Regions from separate parts of the Homo sapiens genome. Here region 1 is linked to region 2. Evidence: promoter capture Hi-C in 16 types of primary human blood cells and fetal thymus (Javierre and others, 2016). All regions are on one chromosome and are shown on one strand. Each heading gives the region's core, a stretch centred on a gene start or on the middle of the fragment in contact. The rest is flanking DNA. Distances are from core to core; before and after follow the strand shown. Region 1 has its middle 5.0 kb from the start of ADAMTS15. Region 2 holds the start of LINC02873 (long intergenic non-protein coding RNA 2873).

Region 1 (4,183 bases), core at 1,587-4,086, 230 kb before region 2:
AGGCCCCACCTGCAACACTGGGAATTACCATTTGACATGAGATTTGGGTGGGGACAGAGATCCAAACCCTATCCATGCCATAGTGCACAGGCAGCAAAGTAAAAATGAACGCAGTGGGAAAAATACTCCATGGGTGTTTTCCGTGGCTTCTTGTTGAAGCTCCAAAGACAGTGGGCCAAGTCACTTTAGGGCCATTAAGCTAATTGTTGACCCAGAGTAGGCTCAGCTTAAAGGCAACTCATTGGATTCTCATGAATTCTATTTCAACTAGCTTGTGAGCATGTGTTCAAGGAGTGTGAGAAGGAGTATGTGTAGGGGAGGAAGACGGGGGAGAGCTGAGTGTGGCTGGAAGTGTATGATACTGGGGTACACCCATGGTATGAGTCAGAATGGGAAAATGAAAAATGGAAATAGGATGGTCTTACCAGAAGAAAGGCAGCTGAGGTCAGAGGAGTCCCCAGGGCTGGAATTTAACAGGAGAGGAGTGTTTCAGTTATACATCTGCTGCTCAGGGATAAGGTGATCTTTGTTGAGTCACTTAAACTCTGAGTCTTAGTTCTTCTTACTCAAAAAGGAGATGTTAATAACTCCTGTCCCATCGCTCCCCTCCCTGAGTATTTTTGTAAGGATGGAATGATAATATATATCAACTTATTTACAAGTCATATGGTATTTTGTATATGTCAAGTATTTTTATTAGGAGGGAGGATGAGCTAATGGAAGAAACCATGCTACCTGGGAGAGCAATCAATTTTGTGTTGGGACCTCATCTGGGTTGCAGGAGCCCGGAGGTGGTCCTTTGCTAGAGATGGGGTGGAGGCCTGAGGCTCAAGGTCAAGCTCAATCTTGAAGCTACTCTTTGTTGACGGTGGGAAAAGGGGCATACTGGGAAGAGTAGAGGAGATAGAAGCTTTTTGGCAGGAAAAACTAATTGCTTTCTAAATCCCTAGATAGGAGTTGAGGATTTAGCATCCATCTCATCTCTATTTTAGGCATTCTCCTTCAACCAGCCTAAAAGCTAAAGGTGCAGCTATACGCAGAATAGCCAAGAGCTCCAAAGTAATTTGTCCTGGGGCGTGTGTGTAAATCTATAAAATAAATGATTGAATCAGGGAGCCCTAGATTTCAGGGGGGTAGCTGTTATTTAAGACTGTCTAAGGGGGATTCAGGGTGAAAGGAGGCAGCCTGGAACTATTGTTTGTTGAGTTTGTCCAAGCCACATCAAGACCCTTTGCTCTAATTTCCTAGCATCCAAGAGAACAAATACAGGAGTTAGCACCAGAGAGACTTCTACTTAAACGCTTAGCCCCAGAGTCAAAAACAGAGTGGGTGGCTGAGAGGGAAAAAACAGAGTTAAATATTTCCTCTGAGTAATGAAGAATGAACTCAGGCCAGGGCTGTAATTCATGGGGCCTTAGATGAATCTCCAGCTGCTTCAGCTGTCTCTGCATCTGGGAGAAGACCAGCCAAGAGCTCCAGCAGTTGTGGAAGCCAGTGGATGATGGCAGCTCAGTCATTTAACACTCGCTGGGCCTTCCCGGGGGCTTCCTGAAGCCTGTGCCTTTCTATACTTTGCCTGCTTTGCCCACCTCTGTGGCACAGATTCCAAGAGGAGCAGATTAAACGCATCTGGGATTTTTAGGGATCTTTGGTAAAGAATGATCAAGTCCTAAGCTCAAAACATGATAAATTTGTACATCTGTTTTCATGCTGCTGTGTAAAAACCGATTTAAGTCCTAACATGGTAGGCCAATGATTTAGAATAGCTAATCTGGGGAATTGGGAGACTTTCCTAAGTCATTTCCCTGCCCATTAAAATCTTGCCCAGATCATAGTGCTTGTCCCTCCACCCCGTTTTTCTCCTTAATTATTTTCTCCTGTTTTGAAGAGATCCTCCAGGATGCCCAATTTCACAGGTAGGCAGAAGTCATCCTGTGATGACTTCTGTGATGACTTCATCCCGTGATGAAGAAATCTGCCGGGCGCGATGGCTCATGCCTGTAATCCCAGCACTTTGGGAGGCCAAGGCGAGTGGATCACAAGGTTAGGAGTTCGAGACCAGCCTGGCCAAGATGGTGAAACCCCGTCTTTACTAAAAATACAAAAATTAGCTGGGCATGGTGGCGGGCACCTGTAATCCCAGCTACTTGAGAGGCTGAGGCAGAAGAATCGCTTGAACCCAGGGGGCGGAGGTTGCAGTGAGCTGAGATTGCGCCACTGCACTCTAGCCTGGGCGACAGAGCAAGACTCTGTCTCAAAAAAAAAAAAAAAAAAAAAAAAAAGAAGTGAAATCCAAACCTAATCCTTGTGGCTGCCTCCTTCTGGCCTCTGTGAGTTACCTTTTTGAGTTGATCTTCTACCTGGAACCTGCCGCATCCAGCTGGCTTGACCAGGAAGTTAACACCTCCTCTGGGGACTGTCATGGAGACTAGTATAATAGGAAAGGAAGCCCTCCTTTTGATGAGTTTCCAGACAAGTGTGGCTGCAGCCCAGTCTCGGGAAAAGGGATGAACACACAATTAGCAAAGGGCAAGCGAGTTCAAATGGACTCTGCCTATGCTGGAAATGGGATGCATATATGCCAGAGGAACTAACAAAAAAGAGCAACCAGAGCTGTGTGAGTTAAGTCAAGGGGCTTCCTATAGGAAGTGAGGGTTATATAGGCAGGCATGGATGAGGCTGAGAGGCCATTCTGTATGGGAGGAAAGGCTCACATAAATACGCATGCTGAAAGAACACTTTCTGAGCAGGAGCACTCAAGCTAATGAATTTAGCTAGGGCCAGGCTTTCAGATGAAGAGTAAAGAGAAACGATTTCATGAGATGAGTAGAGAAACTGGCTGGGTAGCCTTAGGCAAGTAACTTCCTTTCTCTGGACCTCAGCTGCCACACCTATGGGATGAAGGTAGTGGGCTAGGTGACTAGGGTACTAGGCTAGGTGACTGGGGTATTGGGTTAGGTGACTAGGGTACTGGGCTAGGTAACTAGGGTGCCAGGCTAAGGTTTTTGTCAGAGAGATGTAGAAATACATAATTATGAGAGAAGTATGTCAGGCACTCGCTCTATGAGAGAGCCACATTTTCATTGTGGAGATGAAGTATCTTGTCCAATATTTTACAGACTGTAAGGGACCAAGCTGGATTAGAATTGGGTTGATTCATTTGCTCAGTATCTTTGGAGCGCCCCTGTGAGCCCAGCACTGTGTCAGGCTCTGGGAGATATAACAGTGAACGAGATGGGGAAGGTCCTGCTCTCATTTTAACGGAGGGAAGTCAGTCAAGAAAAAAAAAAAAGATCTAAGTGAGCAAAATAGGTTTAGATAGAGAGATAGAGGTAAATGCTAGTGGACAAGACAAAACATGCAATCATGATTGTGACTTGGGACTTCTCAGATTGGGCGGTCTGGGAAGGCCCCTCTGAGGGGGCTGTACTTGGGCTGAGACCTGGAGGCTGTGAAGAGGCCAGCCTAGTTGGCGAAGGACAGAAAGGCCAAGCTGGGGGTCTTAGATCTGACAGATGGCTTAGACCCCCAGTCGTCCTCTGGGGGAAGAGCTGCTTTTTAAAAAATTTTCATTTTCATACATTGACAGGGAGTTGCTTTTTATTTTCCAGGGATGTTAAGATCATGGAGGGCAGGAGAAGCGAGAACTCCATGGCGGTTGTGGAGTCCCGTTATGGAAGTGGGACGTGGGAGCCAATGTGAAAGCTCCCGAGCAGAACTGGGAGAGGACACGCCCCAGAAAACTTCAGAAGGTGATGACAGCAATCAGCTTGGAGGGCCTAGCAGAGACTGATAGCACTAGGAGGAGTAATAATAATAGCACATAAGAATATTAGCAGTACTATTCGATAATATTTAAGGAACTTTTAAAATATACCAAGCATTGCCAAACACTTTGGAAGTATAATATTAACTCATTTAGTCCAGGCAGTGGGTAGAATTTGTATCCCCATTTTAATAATGAGAAAAGTGAGGCTTAGAGAGGTACAGTAATTTACCCAAGATTGCACAGCTAAGATCTGGTGGAGGCATGCACACAGGGCCCTCTGACCATGGGCTCTAAATCACTGTACTATGTTCCCTTCCATAGGCCTCAATCAGTCATGTAATATTTGACCTGGTCGTTATCTTAGGTATTATCTAGACCACAGATTTTGGATGCAGTTCTCTGGCTGAAGACCTC
Region 2 (4,063 bases), core at 606-3,105:
TCCCCAAGATGCCACTAGCACCCTTCCCCCAGTTGCAACACTCAAAAATGTCTTCAGATATTATCAATGTCCCCTTAAGGAACAAGATAGCCCTGGTTGAGAATGACCGCTGTAGATGACAGATGTTCATTGAATGACTGAAGGACCTTAGTTCTGGGATTGCTGCAGAACTGATCAGCAACAAAGCAGCATATAAATTCAGGAAAGTGCTCACGTCCTTTTTAGAACAGTATCTCCATCCTGTAAAATATATTTCAGTGGATTTTTATTTTGGCTCAGTGCTAATAATCTAGGAAGCTGTTTTTACTGCCTACAGGAGAAGAGAGTTAGTGGTATTTTATATAACTTACTCTGTCTCCCCTTCACCTCCATTTGCCATCTGCCAAAATCTTTGGCCCTCAGAGTGGGAAAAATACACTCTACCAGCCAACTGAGATCTACCAAGTGCATCATGGCCAAGTAAATATTGAACTCCCTGCTCCTGACGTTTTTGTGAGAATTGGTTTATATAAGGGGCAGAGCTGTGGAGTGAGGAGGGATGGGTTTGAAGTGCAATTAGACTAGCATCCCTTCCTATTTAACAGTCTTTCTGTACCCCATGAAAGTAAACTCACCAAACTTCTAGGTGGGAACCACTTTCCATGTCTCTGCTATCTATGGGAACTTTACTTATTTGTTTAATAAATATTTTTGGGCACCTAATATGTGTCAGACACTGGCTTAAATACTGGTCAATATGCATATGTTCACGTGATTTGCCAAAAAATCAGTTTCATTTATACGGTTCTTGGCCCCACCTTGAGCTCCATGCTGGGCTGAATCCTCCCTGTCATCCAGTTTATGGCTCCCACAATTTGAGAAAAGGTTGGGAGGTGATTCAGAGACAAAGAAGTGGTTAAAAGGCTGGCTGTGTCTGTTGAGGAATTACAGAGAACACCCACTGGGGCTGTCTTCTGAGGGAGAATCAGCATGAGGTGCATGTCTCATCTAGAAAAAGGGTCTCATACAGATTTTCAGAGCTTGGTTCTCCAAGTCCACGCGGCATAGAGAAGTGTCAGGCGTGAGGGAAACAGGTGAGACGTGGCAGAGCACTTCCTGACATACCTGCTGTCTCCCACCGAGTGAGGGGTGGTTCCCGGACCCACCCTGTGACCGGGCACTGGCTGCCTTGCCATGTGTGTGCTGGCACCTTGGGCTTCAGGGCCTGGGGAATTGTCATGGCAAATCCCTACCTGATAAAACTGCTGGGGGGAAAACAGGCTTTGATGCACATTCCCAGGACTCACTGCTGAGGATTGTGATTTTTTCCTGTGAGCTGTTGGCAGAAGCAGGCTCTATGACTAACCTCAGAAGGGCAAGGGAGCTTTCTGTTAACTGATCGCCTGCAGAGGATCAGAGAGGAATTCCTGCTGGACTCCCTGCTCTGGTCCACCCTGGCCTCGTTTTCCATCTCTGGATCCTTCCAGCCGTGCAAACATACACAGTGTTGCCATGGCGACTCTGGGACAGACACATGCATGAGAGAAAAGCGTGAGGCAAAATCTCTCCTCTGATGATTTGCTGGGAGGGAAGGAGGCCTTGAACAGGTTTCAAAAGCACCTTGTTTCACCCCCTGATTTTCACATGAGAGCGGCTACCCCAGCCATAAACACAGTGGCCTCTTTTCTTCTGCTTTGCTTGCTGAGGCGACTGCAGCTCTGGGAGACCTGAAGAGGCTCCAGGATGAAAGAGCCTCCCACCCTTAAACCCACCCATAGAATGGGTTGCCAGTCATCAGGTGGGGACACCATTGGATGGTGGATGATCAGGGCTGTCCCTGGTTATTAAACTCATTATGCTTTCACCAGGACCCCTCACTTGTCCTTGTGAGTTTCTGACATGGTCCTCCTCTGTCTCTTCCTCGCCAGCTTGGCTGCCACCCCTCGGGCTGGGGTCACTGGGGCATGGCCCACCAGCGGCCTCTCCATTCTGGCCCAGCTCCAGCCGTCCTGTGAGCTCAGGTGGACTCAGCTTTCCAGGTCATCTTGGAGGGATCTGGTCATGACCACATCACTCTGGAGTCTGGCTTATTTCCAGCATTTTTCCCAGGTGAAATCAGGCTTAAATGAATATTATGCAGTGACAGGAAAAACAGCTGCTGCCTGAAGAACACACACAGCAGAAGAGAAATGATGGTGGCGATGGAGGTGGGGTAGATGTTCAGTGGGAGGCCCTGGAGGCGGGGGTGGGGTTGGGGGAACAAGGGTAGGGTTTGTCAGCCCCCACCATGCTGGGTGTGTCCCAAATGCCTGTTCTGACTACTTGGTAATGTTTTTTGGGTGCTGTGCTGAGAAAGCCTGCGAGGCTGCATGAGGTTCCGCAGTAGAGAGCCCTGGTGCTCCATGACCAATGCCTGTGACTGGTGCAGCAAGAGGGACGTTCCTCTGCTGAAATGAATGAGTGCATCTTCCCTGAAGGTGGGTGTGGAGAAAGTCCATCACCAGGGTCCTGTTTGGAGGAGAAGCAGCAGATCTGAATGAATCAACTTTCATCAAGTCACCCCATGGTTCTAGGAGAGCCAGTCCACTTTGTCATCAAGCTCCAAATTCCCTGGCTGGCACTTTCGGCCTCTGCTTTGACCTGGCTCAGAGAAATTTCAGCTCCTGTTCTCAGCATGCCCCTCCTGCTGTGGTAGGGCATGTTGCCTTCTTGGTCCTTGAAGGTAGCACCCAACACCTGTTTCCATGCTCTAGTCCAAGGCCTGCTCTCCTTCCTCTGGCTTCCTGACATCCCTTGCATTGAAGGCCAAGTTCAGGACCATGTCCTCCACACACCTTGTGGACAGCTCCACCCGTGGTGGTCTCTCCTCTTCTGCCCTTTTCTCTGTAGTCTGTGCATTCCAGATCAGCACATGAGCTCTCTCCCCTGGCCTCCTTTGTGTTAGGCACAGATGGGAATCCAGGGCAGAGATGATGTTCTGCCCTTACTACCTTGCAGCAGACAGGATCAGACTTGTGGGACCTGCTTGGTTACCTACCACCTGCTGAGATTCTATTTTCTTTTATAATTTTATATTGTACATGTAGCACACTCTTGGTTGCTTACCCAGTGTGCGTTCCTCTTCTCTGCCTTGGTCACAGAACCCAATTTTATTTCAGTTAGTGTGATGCCCCGTTAAAAGGTATCCTTTCCATTTTATTATAAAGCTAAGAGTTAACATTGAAATGTGAGCAAACATGGACAGAGATGGATGTGTTACACATGTTTTCTCCCAATGTGTAGCTTGTCTTATTTTCTTAACAATGTTTTCCAAAGACTAAAAGCCTTTCATTTTGATGAAGTCCAATTTATCGCTTTTCTCTTTTCTAAGTCATGTTTTCTGTGTCATATCTAAGAAGACTCTGTCTGACCCATAGTCACAAAGATTTTCTTCTAGGGTTTTTGTAGTTTTAGCACTTAGTTGTAGGCCTATGATCCATTTTAAGTTAATGTTTAGATATGGTGTGTGGTAAGCATCAAGGTTCAATTCTTTTTCTTAATGTATTATTGTTATTATTTTTGAGACAGAGTATGGCTTTATTGCCCAGGCTGGAGTGCAGTGGTGCAATCACAGCTCACCGCAGCCTCAACCTCCCATTGTATTTTTGTTTTTGCAGTTGTTCCAGCACGATGTATTAAAATAACCCGGAGTTTAACCTAGCATTAGAGACCTCTGTGGATTTGCTTAGGGAGCTCCAGAACAGTTGAAGTGGCATGGAACTTTTTGTGTGTATGTGCTCGTGTGATTTGGGGATGGAAGGATGGTGGAAGTGGAGATGACTCACAGCTTTCACCAGATTCTGGAAGATGCCCTGTCTCCCAGAAGCTTAAACATCTCCACTGTAATGTAACAAGGCCTTTTTCTTCACCTCACTGAACAAAGGGAGCTACAGAGGGGAGAAAGGGATGTCAAAGACTGCGTGTGAGCTGCTTTTGAGTTCCTGGGAAGAAAACAATATGAACTTTGGGGAGTAAGCCTGTACAAACATACACAAATTATTCTTAATAATAGCATTAAAGCCAAGGCAGTAAAACTTTGTTAAAT

What was found. Contacts are between HindIII fragments. The CHiCAGO score rates a contact against its expected background, and 5 or more counts as called.
Region 1: a contact is called between a fragment that was not itself captured here and the fragment with the promoter of LINC02873 in region 2, in 2 of 17 cell types (M0 macrophages and M1 macrophages). The highest score is 6.4, in M0 macrophages.

The regions. Positions count from the first base shown.
Region 1 is chr11:130,441,509-130,445,691 of GRCh38, forward strand. No RefSeq gene overlaps it. Among named protein-coding and RNA genes, the nearest start is that of ADAMTS15, 5.0 kb to the right of the region's middle. The HindIII fragment of the contact is 3,856 bases long and covers 909-4,183 here.
Region 2 is chr11:130,671,101-130,675,163 of GRCh38, forward strand. It overlaps LINC02873 (long intergenic non-protein coding RNA 2873), which reads left to right and starts at 1,856. Exons shown (of 3, transcript NR_164144.1): 1 at 1,856-2,088. The HindIII fragment of the contact is 8,610 bases long and covers 1-3,842 here.